Linked DNA regions of Homo sapiens: region 2 is linked to region 1. Evidence: promoter capture Hi-C in 16 types of primary human blood cells and fetal thymus (Javierre and others, 2016). All regions are on one chromosome and are shown on one strand. Each heading gives the region's core, a stretch centred on a gene start or on the middle of the fragment in contact. The rest is flanking DNA. Distances are from core to core; before and after follow the strand shown.

Evidence for each region. Contacts are between HindIII fragments. The CHiCAGO score rates a contact against its expected background, and 5 or more counts as called.
Region 2: a fragment that was not itself captured here is called in contact with the fragment with the promoter of SEMA3D in region 1 in 3 of 17 cell types (naive B cells, total B cells and megakaryocytes); the score reaches 8.9 in naive B cells.

What each region holds. Positions count from the first base shown.
Region 1 is chr7:85,183,737-85,189,448 of GRCh38, reverse strand. It overlaps SEMA3D (semaphorin 3D), which reads left to right and starts at 2,393. Exons shown (of 19, transcript NM_001384900.1): 1 at 2,393-2,771. RefSeq lists a silencer at 2,522-2,581. The HindIII fragment of the contact is 2,551 bases long and covers 1,392-3,942 here.
Region 2 is chr7:85,046,790-85,052,501 of GRCh38, reverse strand. All of the region lies in intron 9 of SEMA3D (semaphorin 3D), which reads left to right. Among named protein-coding and RNA genes, the nearest start is that of SEMA3D, 140 kb to the left of the region's middle. The HindIII fragment of the contact is 7,409 bases long and covers 1-5,712 here.

The DNA.
Region 1 (5,712 bases), core at 1,144-3,643:
TTAGATAGGGTATTAGCCCTATAGGACAGAATACCAAATTGCTTTTGATGAAAGTAGATCTCAAACTCTTAGAAAGGGTTGTTAAAACTATCTTGGTGGGACCCTATACAGTTATTAGAAATTCAGAAATAAATCCAGTGACTGAATATTAACATTATTTCTACTGTTTTTATTAACTCGTTTAACACACAAATATTTGTTAAGCACCTAACACATTCAAGACATTCAGGGAAGCAGCCTGAAGATTACGGAGCCATGGACACAGCTGAGGCCATTCATCACATTGGGCAACATATTAACAGTTGATTCCATCTGCTTTGTGCTCAGAGTCATTAAAAGGAAGGAAAGCACAGAATTCACGTTCCAGATGTTGTTTTCTCATGATATGTTCAGGATACTCTGGTAAATTCTGTCTAAATTTGAAGTCTGAGCATCTCAAACTAAATCAGTACAATACAATGTCACAGGCATTGTATTAGAGGCTGAAGAAACAAAGACACAAAACAGCCAACACTTTTGTATGGGATGCAGACACATGCATAACTAATTATAATATAAAGTGAAAAGAGCTTATTATAGTAGTGAAATCAAAGTGCTTTGGGAAAACAGGAGGGAGTGATTAATTCTGTAAGGGCTTTATGGAAAGTATTGAATGGTAGCAAAGGAAGGTGTCATTTGGTTTAAGCATATTAAGCTACAACTTAAAAGAGAAAGGAGGAAAATGGGAAATCCAAAGTTAACCACAATTCTAGTTAAACACAAAATTCTGGCCAATAAACTGACAAAATTATTTAAAAGTTTAAAAATAGAGATTTTCTAAAAATCAAAAACTACTTACTATAAACCCACCATATACGGGAGAAAAAAAGAGATATTTTATTTGCACAATGACATTGCAATTTGCATGGAAGTGCAATGACATATACAAATGAAAATAATATAAACACATAGAAACATACAATAAACAATTGCATGACTATGTACAGAATGAGTGGTATAACATTAAATATAAAGCATTCAGAAAAAAAATAAAAGTTGCTATAGTTTGAAATAGTCTACGAGGATTTAAAATTTTTTTCTCTATCCAAAGAGGGTATTTATGGGGTTGATTGGTTGTGAGTCCAAACCAAGGTTATAGAGATGGGGCAGCATGAGACACAAGAAAGAGCCTTGGTCAGATTTGAGAAACCTGAGCCTTTCCTTAGCCTGACTCTGCCATCAACCATTTATAACTTAAAATGACTCCTTTAGCTTCTGTGGCCCTCAGCCCTCTGCCACAGATAAAAGGTCAAATGAAGAATGTCTTCCACCCCTTTCAGTTATTCCATTACTGCATTTGTCTGTTCACCATCTCCAAATCAAGATATCTCTTGTTACTTGCTAAGGAAGCTTTGGGACCCTACACCTTGTGCTCTTAAATCAAGCTGACAAATGCAGGATCCCGTGGCTGCTTGCTTTCCATGTCTCTACCTCATGTCAGATTTATGTTTGGGACTAAGGGCAAGGTGTGTGACTATAAACCTGGATATCCCATCACAAAGGATTTACCATGCAGCTAAAAATGCCTAACGTACAGGGCTCACCAAATGCACAGGCCTTTTTAATGTCCCTGACGGTGGCCTCATGAACTCTCATTGTCATATATTTTTGCAGAATCTGTAGAAGTGAGATATTTCTGCATTACTTTTGCTTAAAGAGGATCCTCTATTCCAATTGCATAGGATCCAGGTTCATCAAAACTTAGATCTTCTCGTCATTATATACTTCTAAGTTCCTACTGTGTGAATAAGGGGTGCAAAAATCTAAAAAACTCCCGAAGACAAGGATATGAGGCACACCTCTTTGTAGGTCTGGCGTAAGGGAAAGAGGAAGAAAGGATTACATTCTACTCGTTTTTATCTCTCCCTGTTTGGTCTTAATCGGGTGCCAGCCCCTTAACGGAGGGTTGATCCCTGTTCCTCATCCCTATGCCTGCCTTGTCAAGGCCATTAACCGTGGATTGAGGTTTTACATAGTGGAACGCAGGTACTGTTTTGTGGGATTAGCATTTTTAGGACGGTGTTTGTGGTCACTCTCCCTGTTTCTTCCTCATGGGGTCCCTTAACAGGTTTTATGGTATAGAGAAGGAACTAAAGAAGTCCCCAAGTCACCCAGAAGGAAGATCAGACGTTAGAGGTTGCTTTACACATAGGGTGCCCTGTCCTGATAAACATCCGTCAGCGCTTGGCCAGGGCTACCTCTAAATCCACGCTGCTGGCAGCCTCCGCGCAGCAGGGATGAACTTCTGCACGCTTGGGAGTTCTGGCGTGCGCAGTGGAAGGAGGGGGCGAGGGCTGGGGGAGGAGATCGGAAGGGGAAAGGTAATCCCCGGCGTTTTCAGCATCCTCTTTTTAGAAAGACTGAGTCTCTCCCAGGACAGCTGCTGCGGTCACACCACAAACTTAAAAGCCGCCCTCCTGTTTGGAGCGTGCCTTTCCTCGCCACCCTCTCCTCCCCAAAGCTCCAGCTGGTGCCTTGCTCTCCGCCTGTCCTAGCGCGGCTCTCGGGGGAGGCAGCAGCGCCCCCTGCCTCCCGGCCTGGCCCCTGCGGCCGCAGCTTCCCGGCTCTGCCAGGGCTGCCGGCGGCTCCGCTTGCTCAGCCAGGGCTGCGGCTCAGAGGAACGCGCGCCGGTGCCCCGGGTTGCCGCGCCGCTGGACCTCAGCCTGCATCCCGTTCCCCTCTCCCTGAAAAGGCACCAGGAAAAGAGAGAGGGAGAGAAGAGTTCACAGCAGGTAAGTCTGGTTTGGGTCACCTGCTACTCCAGTGGGAGGGTGTGCTGGAGACCGCGGTGCTAAGCGGGGATAGCCGGGATTTGGGGGTGGCTGTGGGTCCGAAGTGGAGGACGAGCATGGTTTGGGAGATAAGGAACCGTCCTGAGACAGAGAAGGCTCCCGGGAGCGGACAGAGAGTGGGCGAAATCGGTGCGCAGTAATCGCGGCGCCAGCTTCAGCGCGGCCCCTGGGGCGCAGTCCCACCCCGCCTCAGCAGCTGCGGAGCCTTCTGACGAGCCTCCGCCTGGCAGCACTGCACAAAGTTTTCCTCCTGAGACGCGTCCAGGAACTTTGCTCTCTCCCTGGCTTCCTGGTTCCCCCACCACCCCTCCTGGTCTGGGCAGCAGAGAGCGTCTATGAATGTGTCCCCGGCTTCCGCAGGCTGCAGGTTCATTTGGAGACGCTTTAGTCGGGAACATCCGGGGAGTACTTGACCAAAGGGCATCTGCGCCCTCGCTCGCTCCTTTCCTTGTTGGTCTGGGAGAAGGGAAAGGGGCAAGGAAGAAGGAAGGGAAGCGTGGTGGTTTTTGTTGTAGCGTTTTGGAAGAGGAATGGGCGACGCCTTTTTCTTCGCCGGGGAATCGCGACGTTCCGTCTGATGGAAGTGTGCATCCTTTTAGATTTAGAGGGAAAGTTGGAGTCAAACAGCAGCCACAAAGCTGGCTGTCTGAAATGTGGTTAAGGCAAAACACTCGGGGGATCTCTTTGTAGTAGTGGGCTTGGCTCGCTTTGGAAAGGCCGGATTTGACTCGTGCTGGGCATTTAACCAGGAGTGCGGTCCCCAGGGTGTTTCCTCCCGGCTTCTGCCCAACGAGCCTGGAGTTAATGCGTTAATGGGCTACCCTGGTAGCGCACGGGCCGTTTTCGGCACTGTTTCTCCTTCTCTGATGACTCGAGTTCAACCTCCTGGGCTGAGTTGCTTTGCCTCCGTCACAGTGCAAGGAGGGAAGTTGACAGGAGGAGGAGACGCCGCGCTGTGGCAGGGAGCTTTGGGATCCAGGGGACTGGAAGAGAGCCGCGCGCCAGCAGCTGGGGCCGCTGGTGTCCGGGATTCCGAGTTATGGGGACAGGAGTTAAATAGCCGAACTTTCAGCGATTTCGCCTCGAGCGAAGCGGTAATAAAAGGCAAGCTTCTGTGCGTGGACTCTTATTTCATCACCAAAACCCCACCACTTTCCGTTTAGCTTAGTGCTATTTGCACAAGCAAAAGAAGAGGGGAGAAGACCTAAACTTTCCGGTTTAGCCTAAAAAGGGTTCTCCTGCATGTGTGCGCTAGCGGGGGATGGCGGGGTGGGGGCGCGCAGAGACGAGGGGGAGGATCTCCTAACAGAGAGGGAAGGGTTGAGGCGGAGGTAGAGGAGAGGTCTGAGACATCTCCTGGGTCTGGTGCTGCTGCTATTGTGTAACCATGGCAACCGCGGGGGCAGGGGTGGTCAGAGCCTTCCCAGTTCTGCACGTGGAAAGAAAAATGTGAAGGGCAGAGAAGGGAGAGAGCCACATGTCATCACTCCAGTGATGCCTTGCCTTCTCCTTTTTGTTCTCCTTTTCCTTCTCCTTTTCCTTCTCCTTTTCCTTCTTCTCTGAGGCCAGATAGCAAGGAGGATGAGCAAGAAGACACACATGTCATCACTCCAATGATGCCCTCCCTTCTCCTTTTCCTTCTCCGAGGCCAGACAGCAAGGAGGATGAGCAAGAAGATCGGGGTTGGGAGTGATCAGCCCCAGCTGGCCACTGCTTTAACCCAGTCGGGTCTTAGAGTCTCTGAGACTCGCCCCAGCGGATAAGACGGGTCAGGGGTGCCATCGCTGACAGGCGCAAAGTGATGGCCCTGGTCAGGGAGATGGGCAATGACCTTGGCTCTTGGAAGGGAAAGGCCAGGAAATACAGGAAGGTGATGTGGGACGAGATAAGAGTAGGGTCAAGGGCTGACAGACAGTAAAACAGTACTGATTCGAATTGCCAAAATTTCCAATGGAATTTGCCCAATTGTGAAATGGAAAGTTCCTAGAGAAGGGAAGAAACATTTATCAAACACCTATTGTGTTTCAGGTGCTGTGAACTTTATCACAATTAATATCCTCAACAATATGATACAAGTGTCATTATTCTCTTATTCTTTTCTTTTTGAACAGAAAAGAAAAAAAAAACAAAGACATAAAGATTTATAAATGGGTATTGTCCCATTTTGGCTTTTATGTTCTTAATGAAGAACCGTAATTCTTAAAAAAAAATTGTATTGCTGGGGGAATAAGCTAGGTAGTTATTATTTTAGAGATGATAATAAATGAGATGCAAAAATGTTGCTTGATGTGCCCAAATATAAGCTAGTAAGGGCACGAACTGAGATACGAACTGTTTTACCTGGGTGTGGGTCTCCTTTCAGAAACTTCAAGAAAGTTGTCATGACCCCACTTAATGGGAGGGCTTTCTAAGGTCAGTTATGATGCTGTATCTGTATCTGTTATCATTTACATGTGGAGAACACTCAAAATTTTAAATGCAATTCATGGTTGAGAATGAGAATGAACCACATCAAATCGATAAGCCCAGAATCGTATGTATGTGATATTAATGATCTATTCATACCTACAGGTTTCATTTTCCTTTGTAGGAATTATTAGTTTCTTTAACAATGTCCGTAAAGGAAAAAAAAAAGAAAAAGAATTTATCAAACAGAAATCCCATGGTTGTATTAAGAACATTTCCTGAGATTAGTTAGGTTTTCCTCAGTCTACTTATTGTCCTCATGACCTGAATACCTAAAAATTTACTTCGTATTTCAGTACCATTGGTTCACTTTTGTAGTTCACTCTGGTTACTTTCCTGTTGATGTTCTGAGATGGGAGGTTAAGAAAAAGTATCTGGCAATGTAAAATGTTTTGGAATTATCGGGAAACTATCA
Region 2 (5,712 bases), core at 2,240-4,739, 140 kb after region 1:
TTTTCGTTTTTATTTTTGTTTTGGTTTTGGTTTTAGTTTTGGTTTTAGTTTTTGTTTATAGAACAGTGAAATCTTGTTGTAACTGGAATTCAAGGGATGTGTCTGGGGAGCAATGACTTTTGAGATTAGAGTGGTAAGTTGGTTGATAAGAAGTTTTGTTTCCATGTTAGTCAGTGTGAACTCTATCCTGTAGTCAATGAGGGATTATAAAATGTTTTAAGCAGAGAAGTGACAAGATAGGTAAATATAGTTAGCAGCAATTTGAAGAATGTATCTGGATCGAGAAATATTTGTGACTGGGAGACCTGTTAGGTTGTTCCCTAAAGATAACAGGAACAAAGAGATAAGCACTAAGAGTAAGTTCAAGAGATAGTTCAGATAGAAAGTATATGTAGGTGTATATGTAGATTTCTATAAAGTCCTCACTTTATTACTGCTCTTTTATTGTTTGCCTGGTATACATAGGGCTGACCAATAGAGCACTCTTATAATGACGGTAATATTCTACACCTGCACTATCCAATACAATCGCCATGTAGATGTTAGTGTTCAAATATGACTGGCATGACTCATGAGCTAAATTTTTAATGCATTTTAATTCTCTTGCTCCTATCATAGAGATTTTGATACCTACCCTGTAGACAAGTACCCTTTTATCCTTGGTAATTGTGATTCCTGGAAGATACAACATGGACCAGGAACATGTGCAAAGAGATATATTTTGATATGAGATGGTAAATAACAAAAAAAATTATGAGCACAGATTTTTATATTTGGATATGAAGAACTTGATGTGGTTCTGAGATATGGGGGCACAATAGCCAGTTGAAAATATAACCTGAGGCTCAGTAGTCTCTGGACTCATAAATTTGAAAATCAGCAGTACACTGGCAGATCTTGAAGTTATGGAAGTGCCTGACATTACTCAGGAAGATTTGTAGTGCAAGATCAAAGGGCAAGGATAGAATCCAATGGGACAATGACATTTAGGAAATAGAAGAGAAAAGTGTCTGCAGAGGCAATTGAGAGGAAATGGTGTCATTGCTGAGTGGGAAAACTGGAGAAGAGTGTTGTCACAAGTCAGGGGAAAAGATTGCTTCAAGAAGAAAGCAGTTGTCAAAAATGTCGCTTATCAAAAAGAGGTCAGGTAAGATTATGATTAAAGACTAGGTATTAGATTTTGCAGTAATGATATCATCAATGACTTTTGCCTGGATGATGTGAATGTTCAACTTAAAATCAGATCTAGGCTTACATTTTGCTCTACTTCCCATTCTCTCAGTTTCTTAACCTAAAAAATGAGGACAGCAGGCACCTATTGCTTCCATAACTATTTTACCAAGCAAATGTAAGGCTTTAATAAGATCATATGAATTTGGATGTGACAGATAACTGAGGAAGGTGCCAAAAACAAGGGTAACTTAGATATCTAAGTTTACAAGCATGTAACAATTTACTATAAGAGATTGACATGTAAATAATGTAAATATCTGGTCACACTACAGTGAATTTAATCCCAAAAATCACACATATGCACACATGCATGTGCACACATACACACACATCACACATACATTTGGAGCCAGATCAGCGTACCTGTGCTTAGGAATGGAAGAAGTTGGTGTTGATGGTAGTGGTGCGTGTATTTTGCAGTGTTAGGGGCAGGTTAGTTACCAAAGGTGATCAAAGAGATATGTCATTTTATTAGTTTTAAAGGCTGAAGTTACATTATTATTTTTCTTTATCTTTAGGAGAATTTGTGCTTTGAAGATTGATCTTATTTCTGAACATAGTCAAAGTAATTTGGAGCTGTATTTGGAGAAAGTTGCATAAATGATTTGAACAATGCAAATTTTGGTCAAGAGATATCAATGAAGAGAGACACAATAAATAAACTGACTTAAAAGATAATTTTACTGGGCAATATTGATCAATGAGAGCCTGAGGCGAATAAGTGCCTTCATCCACAGAATATCTTTTAAACTTAATATGTTTATAATTATACATGGTAGAGCACATTTCCTAATGAATTATTTTTAGTAGTGTTCCTACTTTCCAGTCAAACTACTTACTCTATTTTTCCAATAAATTGTTTAACCTTGAAGGATTTCTAAAGTCCTTGTCAAGCTCTACAGTTCTTTCATTTTGTGAAACAGTTAATATCTTGAAGCACGAAATGGTGCAACTTACACCCCAAAGAACTGCTCTCGTAGATGGTAAATAACACAGATCTTCTTGATGAGCTATTAAATGCTAATTGAATGAATAGGCAAAACCACATGAAATAAACCCACTGAAAAGATTTGTGTCTATTTACTTTGCAAGTTAGTACTTTCAAAATACATTATTTATGTCTGTCTGATGTTTATTACTCTGTCTCTGTGTGTGTGTGTGTGTGTGTGTGTGTGTGTGTGTGTGTGTGTGTGTGTTTCCCTTCAAGACCCACCTTTTAAGTCAATGGGTGGAAATACTAGTTCTTTCGGTGAGACTTGCTTGCAATTTTTCACCTCAAGGCTGTTTTGCATTACTTTTGAATTCTATTCATTTTTGGAAGAGCTGCCCATTATACTTATGCAAGTCTACTCCAGATTCCAGCTGTAGGTTATGCCAGTTCTCTTTTTTGTTTTGCAGTATTTCCTTTCCCCATGCCAGGAATTCAGTTTGGATGGCCCTTTCACATAACTTGCCTGGGGGTCTCATTAATAGCCCTTTGCTTCAATTCCACTTGCATTGTCTATTTTGATATATGGTCCTATTTGGACAATTACTGCCTTTGAAGATTTGTGTTTTTAGGCCGATGACACTTTCCGTATTTATTGATCTCTGTTGAGCTGTGGTTTTTGTGCTTACTTTCAGCATGTCACTTACAACCTAAATGAGAGATTTAGTGCCCACGAGTTACAGATGTGCTTTTGCTTCACTTCCATCTGTTTTCCTGTCTGAGAAATTCCTAGGAAGGGGTTTATACTGTTTGCTACAGCTTTTTTTTTTTAATTGAATGAACTCTGATTCTACCTGAAAAGGACTGCTTAACATTCCTAGATTTACCTAACTGAATGTGCTAAATCTTAGAAACTGAGTTGTTCAGGATAGTGTATTACACCAGTCCTGTATTTCCAATAATTTTTATGAGTTTCTGAAGTAGTTAGAAAAACATGTTCTCCACTTCTATTTGCTTAGTCATTAACGGCAAATCACAAATAGTCGTCTCTAAATACTAGGTGTATTTTTCAGAAAAAAAAAATTGCCTTGAAAGCCTCTATAGAATTTATCCCTTAAAAGTTAGTGTGTTTAATAGCTGCCACAAAAGTTTTTGTTGTTCTTTTTTTTTCTCCTCTATCCTTTGCCTTAGATGTTTGAGTTTGTATATTTTTATTTCATCTAAAGTATTTCAAGATTATTAGTAGGTGAGGTAAAGGACTCTATGTTATTATATGTCAAGAATTTTGGGGGGAATCCTAAGTATCAGAAGTGGGAAAAAAAAACTTTTGAAAACAGTAAAGAGCAAGTGCCAATAGACCTTCCTCTGGTAAAGAGAAACGGTATCCATAAATTTCTCTTTATGTTAAAAAATGCTTATAATTTAAGTTGCCAAAGAAAGTAAGTGAAGAGATATTTGTTTCTACATGTTATATTTCTACATGTTCTATGTTACACAGTTGTTTCTACATTTGTTTCTACAACTTAACTTACCGGAGTTGACTGCCAAATATGGTTATGTGAAAACTCTCAACCGTATTTTTAAAATTCATATTATTATTTTTGCCTTCATTTTTTAGTGGTCAGATCCTTTTTTAAAAATCCCAATGAACCAGGTACATGAAACATAGTTATGGCATTGCAAGTATTGCAAAAGAAAACCCACAGGCTAAAAAGGGTAGTTCAACAAAGTTTGTTTCATTTGATTTAATGAGCATAACTTCACTATCTTCCATTAGTTCACTTAATGTATCAAAACATACTCATTTAAGATCTTCACAATATAGTAATATAGTTCAATATAAGGCATACACTTCTAATGAGTCTCTTGGGGGCTTATGCCAGGTTTCACTTTTTGTTTCTACCATGTCATGGTCATAGTTTCAAACTTCTGAATAGACCACCCTGAGTTTGGATTGTCCTTATCATTATTATTTATTTATACAGCCCCATGCAGATCATTTGTACTAAGTTTTCAAAGAAAGATTCTAAAATCTGTTTCTAGAAATAACCCACTGAAGATTGAGACAACACAGATAGATGTAGATTGGACAGTTGCTGTGGGATCTATTATAAATGACAAATCAAGCAAAGAATATGAATGATGGATTGAAATATAACAGGCATTAAATCAAAAAGACAAAAGTATTAAATTTCCCTAATCTTATTTGTTGAATTTGTAAAAATGGCCAACAGAAAGCCTGTGTGTTTGCCTCAGTGTTAGTTTGGGTAATGGAATAGGTTTTTCTTAATTTATAATACTGTAGTATTTATATCACACTTCAAAAGAAGGTGAGTAGTATTAATTCAAACTAAAATCTATAAGCATAAGTGTTATTAATGGGTAGAACAGGGAGTGGGGCACACAAAGAATGCATATATCATGGTTTCAAAGTGTCTGAGAATTTCATTCTCTTGCTTGCACAAAGATACAGAAGAGCAGTATTAGGCAAAATAACTAAATTTTAAGCAGAGAATAATTTATAACCTCTAACTCCAGCATCAACTATTTTTTAAAGTTCTTAAACTTTGTCATTATCCAGTTTCTATTGATTTGAAACTGGTGTCCTTCAACTTAAACTCATGAATAGGGTTACAAATCTCTGCACACAAATTAGTAGCTTAACAAAATACTTGTTTTCAAATGTCTTGGAGAGTAAACTGATTTTACAAAATCTTCAGGATTTAAGAGCATAGGAGCCGAAAGTCAATTATTACATTTTCCAAAAGCCACTGTTATCTAATATATAGGTTAAAATGACAATGTTTATAAAGTACTGAGGGATCCTTGAAGAGGATGGTATATACAGATAAAATCACGTTTAACAGAGGAACCCAGCATAGTGACCCAAAGTTCAAAAGGCACACTCAATAAAAGTTCATGTGTGACAGCTGCTAGCTACTTTACATGTCTATATAAGATTTATAAGGGTTTAAGTTTTGCTGGGACAGTAGAAGGAAAATATAATGCCATATTACCCTGCTTTAGGTCTGATCTACCTATCAGTAGATGCTATGATTAGAAGATCTTAGTAATTCGTAACATGCAACCATCATACAATCAAATGACTCAGATGTACTATATTTTAAAGCTGCTGAAGGATTGCAAATTGTGGTTTGTTTTGTCTTTAATTTTTTTTTCTTTTTTTAATTAATCATTTTAAATTAAGAAATACTGCAAACATATAACAAGTACAGGAAAACAGGCACCCTCTGTACTTACCACCCAAATTGAACACATGTGATCAGGCTTGTTTACATATACTTTCTTTGTTACTTTCATCTGCATCTTTGTGTAGAGGGTGTCAAGGCTTTTGGAACACTTAACTACAAAAAGTGAATGATAAATAGTGTAGAGACCCACAGAAGTGCCTGGTGACTAAAAACTGCTGATTTTGACATCTTAATGATAAATCTATTGTGTTCGTGAGATGGTTATATTCTTTAGAACTTCACAAAAATAAGCAAGGAGGTGACAATTTAGTACAAAAGTGGTTACCTCCCTTTCAGCCC